2 separate regions of the Homo sapiens genome follow, and region 2 is linked to region 1. The links are contacts of gene promoters, found by promoter capture Hi-C in human tissues and cell types (Jung and others, 2019). All regions are on one chromosome and are shown on one strand. The core of a region is centred on a gene start or on the middle of the fragment in contact, and the rest is flanking DNA. Distances in the headings are between cores, read along the strand shown. Region 1 holds the start of TRMT11 (tRNA methyltransferase 11). Region 2 overlaps NCOA7 (nuclear receptor coactivator 7).

Region 1 (4,858 bases), core at 834-3,333:
CTGCTGGCCCATCATCTCTCAAGAAATAACTTCCACTCATTCATTACCTACAAAACAGGCCCTCAGGCAACTACTCCACACCCACCCTAACTTTCCTTGTCCAATCTCCCCTCCTACTGAAAAGAGAACCCCTCCCACCATGCCCTTGTATCCCTTCTCTTCCCATCAGCCTACAAATACACTCAAGCTCAATCTCATTCTCTCCATGGGGAGAATCCTCCTTTCACCCTAGGTCCTCTTCAAACTGTTAACCAATTTCTTACTTTCCCTTATGCTCTAGCTAAGGACACTCAGTCTATCCTATCTCCCCTTCCTCACTTTCCAGTGATTACTAAACCAAGCCACCTGGCTTCTCCTACTAAAACTCAACATATTCGCTTTAGCAAAAATCACCAATTAATTATCTTCTAATTGAGACTATCAATGACACTTTTTCATTCTTTTCTCACTAAAAAGCAACTGCATTCGACATTTATCCATTTGTCCCTGCTTCCTAAAACTTTACCCTTCTGATTTCTGCGGTCTCACATCCTTCTGGCACTTGCCCATCTTCTTCATGGCCTCCTCCGACTTTCCCTTAATATCAATGCTTCCAAGCATCTATACTTGGCCCGCTACTCTTTTGACCTTATCCTTTGAGTAATTTCTTCCCCGCTCCTAGTTTTCATATGAAGAAGACTCCCAAATATTTATCACTAGTCCAGATCACTCTGCCATACTCTATGCATATTCATATATCCACCGCCTCTTGGTCATCTCAGGTTGATGTTACACAACCACATCAAATTCAGTGTAAACAAAATTTAAATCTTACATCTGCCTATGTTCTCTATTTTAAATGGAGACACTCCTACCTATATACACCCCAGGAGTCATACCTGACTGGTGCCCCTTTCCCACATATTCAATCAATCCAGCCTTAATGACTGTATGGCCTAAATATTTTCCCAGTCTATCCCATCCTCTTACTCCTTGCCCTAGGTCAGACCTTCTTAATCTATTAACAAGACTATTCCCACAGACTCCTAGTCTCTGGCTCAAGTCTTATTCTTTTCAAATCCATCCTCCATAGTGTTGTCAAACTGATTTAATTTTGTGGTCACTTTTTTACTTAAGGCTTTTCAATAAATCCCCCTTCCAAGCTCCAGGGTACTCAAGGTTTTCATTTTCTGGCCTCGATCTACTTCCCTTGCTCTCTTCTTACCACTCTGCCACATAACTAGTGATCCAGTAATAATGAACACCTTGTAATTCTAATTTACTGATTTATCTCCTTGGCCCTCTAACTCCTATTCATCCTTTATTTCAAGTGTCATCTCCTCTGGAAGCCCTCTTAAAGGCCAACATCCCCAACCCCTCAGGTAGATTAGATTTCCCTTCCACGTGCTCTCATATTTCCATGTGCATCTATCACTGCACTTACCGACGCTCTTTTGTCATTCTACGCCTATGTGTCTGCTCAGCCCTTACTCTAAACAGTAAGCTCCTAGAGGGCAGAGATTGCTTACATCATCGTTACATGCCCAGCGTACCGATCTTCGACTACATGCATTCTGAAAACGTTTCTTGAATAAATAAAACACTCTTCTCAACTTCTCCATCATCTAATCCCCACCACCATCCCCTCCACTGAGCTTGATCCGCAGATTCCAATACTTCAAACACCAGCCTGAGCATTTGTTAGCTGTCTCTATTCTCCGCTAGACGAAGAGCTCCGGGAGTGAGATGACCGGTCATATTCACCTGCCTAACTCCGGTACTTGATACACGGGCAAAAGAATGAAAAGTTTAAGCAGGCCGAGGGGTTTGGTCTCGGACTTCTCTCACACACACCCTCCGCCAAGCTCACCCCGCCCGAGGACTGGGGACGCGTGACCCGCGCAGACCAGCGAAGACCCCCGAATCCCAGCTTCCTCGGGCTATGCAGATCACCTCCACCCACTCCACTCCACTCCAGCGTCCTCTTCCGTCGGAAGTTCCGGAGGGCGCTACGGACTCACCGGCAGGCGGAACTCCAGATGCTCCTGCGCCATGAGGAGCAGATACCTGTTAAGGGTACACGACAGCGCCATTGCAGCTGCCCACCGTGCGCCTGCGCGGCCCGCGCTAGGTCCCTCTTTCTCCCTCCCAAAGCCCAGTCTCCACAGAGACAGAGCCTGAAGGGCCGGAAGCGGAAGCTCTGCGAGGCAGGCGCTATCCCGACGTTTCTCGCGCTCCGAGTCCGAAACTCCGGCCGCTGTGGGAGGGGCTTCCTCACCTGTGAATGCCTGGTGGTTAGGGGTCTCCCAGCGCTGGTAGCTGGTGAGCGGGGACGCGTGGCTTTCAGGAGCAGCCTGTGATAATAAGACAGTATATTTCCAAGTTATCGTTCCACTTGGAGTGTGCTTCCAGCTTTCTCTACAGCCCTTCAAAACCTGTTCTTCAAAATTGGACTGAAATTTCACCATTTCCTTGGAAATTTCACCATTTCCTTGTAGGTTTGTCTAACCAGCACAGCTTTGGGAACTGATTTAGTTGGGCCAGTCATTTAACAGTATATTTTTCGTATTTATGTAACAACTTTTCGAGAGCACATGCCTTATAACCCAATTATAATAAACTCTTGAGGTCTGATATAATCTTTTATGGTTCACTCTATTCTTAACAAAAACCAAAAGAATATCTTCCTCAAAGTAGGCAATAATTATTAGGTTGTGTTATTTGTTAGACTCAGGACTAAATCCACAGCCAGCCATAAATTAAAACTTGGAGAAAGCTCACACTGGCACAGATTTCATAGCAGATAGTTTATGAAATATATTTTAATTGCATATTCTATGTATATATGTGACTTTTTTTTTTTAAGACAATCTTGCTCTGTCACCCAGGTGAGTGCAGTGGCGCAATCATAGCTCACTGTAACCTTGAACTCCTGGTCTCAGGGGATACTCCTACCCTAGTCTCCCAAAGTGCTAGAATTACGGGCTCAAGCCCTCCCTCTGGGCTATTTCTGCTTTTGAGAGTACCGAGCCCTTTGCCCTATTAAAAATTATTTATTTTGCATTTCTCTGTGGTATTGTACAAGGTGCAAAAGAGTATGTATCTGGCATATCCCCAGCGGCATGTGCCAGAAACGTAGTTGATGCGCAGTGGTAGTGATTAAGAACATAGGCTGTGGTGTCAATATTAGATTCAAACCTCACTTCCACCATTTACCATGTATATGCTCTTAACCTCTCCGAGCTTGAGTTTTCTTTTAAAAATGGAAAAACACACTGCCTCCTGCAAAGGATTGTTACAAGGATTAAGTGGAATAATGTTCATAAAGTGTTGAATATAACATCTGGCATATTGAATGGGGCCAATAAGTGGCACTTGACATTTTTCTTAAGAAAATCACATGAGAATTTTTGTTAGCAAGAGATCTGTTTTTGTTAGGAATATGTCTCAAGTTCACTTGTGCTAAGTGACTCTGAGAAGCATAGCTGTCTCTTGACCCCAAAACTTCAGAAAAGGGGGTAAAAGTACTTTGAGACAAGAAAAGTTGTTTACTATTTGAGAAGAGAGGCCAAGGTTGGGACAGAAAACCAATGAGATGTTGGGGAAATGATGTGCAGTACTTGATATGCCCCATCCCCAGAACTTGTCAAATCTTCAGCAAAATTAATATGGAATTTTGATGGGGCAACTTTATAGAGAATATCAAAGAATTGCTGATTTTCATGCCTGGATTAATATGATGCTATATAGAGACAAATGAGACTACAAGGCCTGGAGAACCCAAATGGAATCAGGTGTCACTGATTTTTCACCCAGCTCCTTTGTGCTACAGTTCAGGACTAAATCTATACTAAATCTCCACCTCAGAAACCAGCAGGAGAGTATTTACATCATGAATCTAAATTGTTGGATACCTGGTCTGGAGAAGTAGAGATTAACCTTGCACAGGCCACTAGAGTTAGTGTGGAACTACTGTGACATCAGTGAAACTGCCTTTGAGGGACTCACAGCCAGACCTGTTCAAAGTTCTTGAGCTTACAAGAGTGGTTAAGAAGCAGCAGGAGAATAAGGACTTTGGAATTTGGTGATCAAACTGCATCCAGAGACTTGCTTTTTTTTTTTTTTTTTTTTTTTTTGTACTGTAAGGAGCAAGGAGGTTCATAGTCTGGCTTCTGGGAACTGATCCAAAGTTCCATCCATGTTCCATCTTCTAGGGCAGACCTCTTAGAACCTGTCTCCTTCTGTGAGACAGCTGTTGTGCAAACGTTAAAGCCTCTGGTATAGGCCGCCTGTTACTAAAAAATCAGAGGACATTCCTGGGAAGTAAGGATCAGAAATTGGAAAGGGGAATTTTGAGTTTTGGTTTTAATATGCCACTTAAGTATTGAGGCTAGTAGGACACACTCAGAGAAATGAATAGAAAGTTAACAGGTCCCAGCAGCAGAGGTCACATGTAATATCAAAACTGCCCATGCATCTATCTCAGGCTGAACATCTAACACTTGAAAAGGGTCTAGGTATCACAGAGAACCATAGGGATTTGTACACCAATAAGAGGGAGAAAAGTTATCTTCATATGTATTAAGACTATGATTTTTGCAATTAGTAAAAAGAGGCTTCTGAATAGTTTTGAGAATAAAATTTTATTGGAATAAGTTATATAAGAATTGCACAAACTTTACTGCAGCAGAGCATTACTGAGGTTTGAATTTCTTGATGTCCCAGAGGGGTCTCCCCTCTTGTCAATCTTAATGAAAATAATTTAGGAAAAGAGAGAAATAATACTGCCTACTCTAAGGAAACAAGCCTGTATGAGTTGGAATTCTGAGGCACCAATTCAGACTTAAGCAGCTGGAGTTGATTTAAGTATGACTCAGCT
Region 2 (5,600 bases), core at 2,416-4,915, 150 kb after region 1:
TGTACCAAATTACCACACACTTGGTAACTTAACACACATTTATTCTCTTACAGTTCTGGAGGTCAGAAGTCTAAAATCAGACTCACCAGGCTGAAATCAAGGCGTCCACAGGGCCATCCTCCCCATTAGAGGTTCTTTTCTTGCTTTTTCCAGCTTCTAGAGCTATATTACTGGTAGCCCCTTCCTCCATTTTTCAAAGCCAGCTGCATGGCACACTGCTTTCTCTGCAGTCAAACCTCCCTCTTATATGGACACTTAGGATTGCATATAGGACCCATTCAGACAATCCAAGTTAATGTCCCTATATCAAGGCCCTTAATCACATCTGCAAGATCTCTTTGGCCATAAAAGGTAACATTCTCAGGTACCAGGGATTAGGAACTGGCTATCTTTGGGGGTCACTATTCAGCCTACCACACTGGCTAACTTAGCTTTTATGTTACAAATAATTGCAAACTGAGCATCATATCACATTAGTGTCTTAGTGTCTATGTCTAAATCATTACTATGGCTATTCAATGTATTGTCTATGATACTTGAAAAAATTCACTACTGGCAGTGAGTAGCAATAAACATATTTCTAAAGCAAAAGCAAAAGGTTTATTCAAGACTACCCTGAAATCTGCAATTAGAATATTACAGATGTGAATTTTTTATTTATGGTGGATGACTTCAAAACAGCCTCTTGGAAGTGGGAGTATTAGAAGGAAAATTTTAACAGGTAGGATTTCTAAAGAGTTAAGTCTCATTTTCATATCTAATTACTTAGATCTGCATTGAATCAGTTCATCATTGTTTATAATCCCTTACACAAAGCTGTTTATAATCCCTTACAAAGCCAAGAAAGTCTCCCAAAATATTTTTTTATTTTGCTAGAATTCCTTAGTAAAGGAAACCTTTTTAAATTATTTTTTTAGAAATGCTTTTTACTCAAAATGAACTGTATTCTCTGACTACTCAATGAATCTTATAGAAAGCAGCATTGGCATATATTTTCGTGACACATATATTTTGCTACAACAGCAATATATTGCAGTGACATAATTCTGGAAGAACAGCAAAATGTTGTTTTCTTGAAGACATTTTAGTCAAACACAAAGCATACTATCTTGAAAAATCTCAAGCAAGCACAAACTCAATGATGCCAGCGACTCTGTCATCCAATTTTAACTGACTTTCCCGTTAACTACTTAAACTGTAGAAATATTGAGGGAAATAAGGGCTAAAATACAGAATCCTGAAACGAATCAGTTTAGTATATAAACTAATACTCTACTGAAAGCCTCGTAAGGGAAACATAGTTTATGATCAGCAGAAATGGCCTGATGACAGAAAACACTTATAAGTAGCATAAAATTAGAATATGTTCTAGCTTAACTTCTCTCTCCTCTCAACTTTAAAAAATAAACTCTTATATTAATCTGACATTGCTTTTGAATAATTTTAGACATACGTACCCTTTTATGATAATATACTTTCATTGTCATAAACTAGAAGTGACCTCATAAATCATTCTGTCATTACAGGTACTTTCAGAAAGAATAATCTAATATCAGGTATGAAATTTTAAAACTTATTTTGGCAGATGCTCTCAATTTAGTTGGTTTACATCCAACATGTCCATTCAACATCTTAGAGGTATTTTTTCCAATTGCTACATGCTGGCTACTGCTTGGGAAGTGATGTTGCTCAAAAACAGAATTTCTGGGGTGGTAGACTGGTAGTACCTACTCTAAATTTTTTTCCTTCTAAAGTTAGTGCAGAACTCTGAGTCTGGATAATTCATTCACATGTAAAGGCAAACCCAAAATAGATTTTGAAGAAAAATCTTGGCCTTGCTTTCATCTTTCTGAGGGTGCATTTCCATGACAATGACCATCCAATCACAAGACGGTCTTGATCACGCTCTTAAAAAAAAATCCAACAATGGCCACCTCTCAAGTTACCAGTTTGATTTTAACCAACCACAGGTTGTGGTATAACAAAAAATAAATAAATATAATCATGCCTTGCTAAACGACAGGGATACATTCTGAGAAACGTGTCATTAGGTGATTTTGTCATTATACAAACATTATAGAATATACTTACTACAAACCCACATAGAATAGCCTATGACACACCTAGGCTATATGGTAGAACCCATTGCTACTAGGCTACAAAACTGTACAGCATGTTACTGTACTGAATCCTGTAGGCAGTTGTAACCAGTAAGTATTTGTGTATCTAAACAGGTGTAAAAACATAAAAGGTAGGCCAGGCGCGGTGGCTCACACCTGTAATCCCAGCACTTTGGGAAGCCGAGGCAGTGGATCTCTAGGTCAGGAGTTCAAGACCAGCCTGGCCAACAAAGTGAAATCCTGTCTCTACTAAAACTACAAAAATTAGCTGGGCACAGTGGCAGGTGCCTGTAATCCCAGCTACTCGGGAGGCTCAGGCAGGAGAATCATTTGAACCTGGGTGGCAGAGGTTGCAGTGAGCCAAGTTCATGCCACTGCACTCCAGCCTGGGTGACAGATTGAGACTCTGTCTCAAAAAAAAAAAAAAAAAAAAAAAAAAAAAAAAAAAAAAAAAACCAACCAAACAAAAAAAACCATAAAAGGTAAAATAAAAATATGGTATTAAAAAATGGTGTCCAGGCACGATGACTCAAGCCTGTAATCCCAGCACTTTGGGAGGCCAAAGCAGAAGAACTGCTTGAGCCCAGGAGTTTCAAGACCAGCCTAGAAAGACCCTGTCTCTACAATTTTCTTTTTTTTTTATTTAGCCAGGCATGGTGGCATCCTGAGTAGTTCCAGCTACTCAGAAGGCTGTGGTGGGAGGACCACCTGAGCCTGGGAGGTTTGAGGCTACAGTGAGCTATGATCATGCCACTGCACTCCATCTGGGGCAACAGAGCAAGACCCTGTCTCAAAAAGAAAAGAAAAAATGATATACCTGTATAGGGTCCTTACCATGTATGGTTGCTGCTCTTGGGGAGTCAGAGAGTGAGTGGTGAGTAAATGTGCTTACTGTGCTCTACTGCAGACTTTCTAAACACTGTATACTTAGGCTGCACTAAATTTATATAATTTTTTCCCTCATTCAATAATAAACTACCTTAGCTTACTATAACTTTTTTACTTTATCAGTTTTTAAATAACTTTTTGATATTTAGCTAAAAATATAAACACATTGTATAGCATACAAAAATATTTTCTTTATATGCTTATTCTATAAGCTTTTTTCTATTTCTAAAATTTTTAACTTTTTTGTTTTACTTTTTAAACTTGTCAAAAGCTAAGACATAAACACAGAGGGTCTACACAGGGTCAGGAACATCAACGTCATTGTCTTCCACCTCCACATCCTGTCCCACTGGAAGTTCTCAGGGGCAATAACACACAGGGAAGTATCCTCTCCTATGATAACAATGCCTTTTTCTGGAACACCTCCTGAAAGACCTGCCTGAGGCTGTTCTGTTTAGCTTTTTTTTTTTAATAATCAGAAAACACTCTAAAATAATAATAACTAGTGTAGTAAATACATAAACCAGTAACACAGTCATTTATCATCATTATCAAGTATTATGTACCGTAAATAATTGTATGTACTATGCTTTTCCACAGCTGGCAGTACAGTGGGTTTGTTTACACCAGCATCACTGAGTAATGTGTTGCACTATGACGGTGACAATGTTACTGGATGATAGAATTTGTTAGCCCCATCATAATCTTATGGAACCACCATCATAAATGAGGCCAGTGGCTTATGTGGAACATTACTGTATTTGGTCTTTGTCCCCAGGTTCCTGGCACAGACTTCCTAAAACACTGGAATCTCGTGAGTGATAAAGAGCGTCTTTTGTATTCTCATGAGATGACTCAAAGCTGCGGAGGGAGGGAGGTGCCTCGAGAGCTTCTAGATGGGGTCTAGCCACCAGAAAGATCCAGCCAGGATTAAAAGGTTGGAACTTTCAGCCCCACCCGACAGTCCACTTCTCAAGAGGGGAGGGGACAGCAGATAGAGTTAAATCACTAAGGCCTAGGCCTCGCGCAGTGGCTGACTCTTGTAATCCCAGCACTTTGTGAGGCTGAGGTTGGACTGATTACTTGAATCAGGAGTTCAAGACCAGCCTAGCCAAAATGGTGAAACCCCATCTCTACTAAAAATACAAAAATTATCCAGGCGTGGTGGCATGCACCTGCAGTCCCAGCTACTTGGGAGGCTGAGGCAGGAGAATTGCTTGAACCCGGGAGGCAGAGGTTGCAGTGAGCTGAGATTGCTCCACTGCACTCTAGCCTGGGTGACAGAGTGATACTCTGTCTCAAAAACAAACAAACAAACAAACAAAAATCACCAAGGGCTAATGATTTAATCAATCATGCATAGGTAATGAACCTCCAAGAAAAACCCTTAAATGTCGAAGTTCTGAAAGTTTCCAGGGTGATGAACACACTATGCGTCTGCGAAGGTGGTGCACCCAGAGAGGGCATGGAAGCTTGTTGGCACCACCCCTGAATCCCCCAACCTACCACCCCTGAGTCCCCCATACCTTGCCCTCTGCCTCTCTTCCATTGGGCTGTTCCTGAGTTATATCCTTTATAATAAACTGGTTAAGTGTAAGAAAAGTGTTTTCCTGAGTCCCCTGCGCAGTTCTAGTGAACTCTCAAACCTGAGGAGGCGGTCATGGGAAACCCCAAATTTGCAGTCAAGGTGGACAAAAGTACAGGTGGTCTGGGGACCTGGGACTTACAACAGAGCTCTTAAATCTGTGGAGTCTGAGGCTAACTCTGAGAAGTTAGTGTCAAAATTGAATGGAATTGTTGGACACTCAACTGGTGTTGGAGAACCAGAGAACACCTCTAGTGAAGGAAATAAAAGCATTTCACTCCAGAATATGCTTCTTTGACATGTTTTGAGATGGCTGTTCAGAGGGCTTGCAAACAGAAGTACCCCTGCAAAGCTGTCTTTCATGGGGGAGTTTTGCATCAATCCAGCCAGGTCTTCCCTTGTCCTGATCTAGGAAAGATTTAACTGAGAGTCGGACACCTTTAAAGATCTGAAAGAAGCATTTACCACCTATCCTCTCTGATGGCTGCCACCTATCAGGTTTCATCTGTATAACAAGACTACCTTCACAAGCCAGGCCTCCTCCTCTTCTTTCCTTCCCCATAATCTATCTTGCCACTGTAATCTTGATTTTTGGCCATGCCCTGAGCCCCATTCTTTCCGTGACCTCAAGATGGTATAGAAGCTTCTGCACCCCATTGTAGGCTTGGGTAAACACTTCATGGTCTCCCAAACACTTGGGTTCTCCTCATGAATGTTAAAAAAAAATTGTATGCTTCTCTCTTATTAATCTGCCTTTTATGAGTTCATTTTTCAGTGAAGCTTCAGAGGGTGAAGGGGAAGTTTTTCCTTAGCCCCTAGAGAGTTAAGGACTAGGAAGGGCTTTGTTATCAAAGGGACTGGCGTGTGCTCTACTCATTAAGAGGAAGAAATATGGGAAGGAGTCCCTTTTTAACACCGACCATGAAGTAGTTCTGCATCAGTCATACAACTAAGAGCAGCATGCAATTTACTGTCCCATTTTTCATGCCAATTTATATGTTCCCTGG

Evidence for each region. The method cuts DNA at HindIII sites, captures the fragments that hold promoters and counts their contacts. A contact is called where the count stands out against the background at its distance.
Region 2: a fragment that was not itself captured here is called in contact with the fragment with the promoter of TRMT11 in region 1 in 1 of the 25 tissues and cell types used here (adrenal gland).

Annotation. Positions count from the first base shown.
Region 1 is chr6:125,983,765-125,988,622 of GRCh38, reverse strand. TRMT11 (tRNA methyltransferase 11) reads right to left here and starts at 2,083. Exons shown (of 13, transcript NM_001031712.3): 1 at 2,001-2,083. The coding sequence starts at 2,072. RefSeq lists enhancers at 1,200-2,029, 1,563-2,052, 2,030-2,860. The HindIII fragment of the contact is 9,309 bases long and covers 1-4,858 here.
Region 2 is chr6:125,837,844-125,843,443 of GRCh38, reverse strand. All of the region lies in intron 2 of NCOA7 (nuclear receptor coactivator 7), which reads right to left. Among named protein-coding and RNA genes, the nearest start is that of NCOA7-AS1, 22 kb to the right of the region's middle. The HindIII fragment of the contact is 5,608 bases long and covers 862-5,600 here.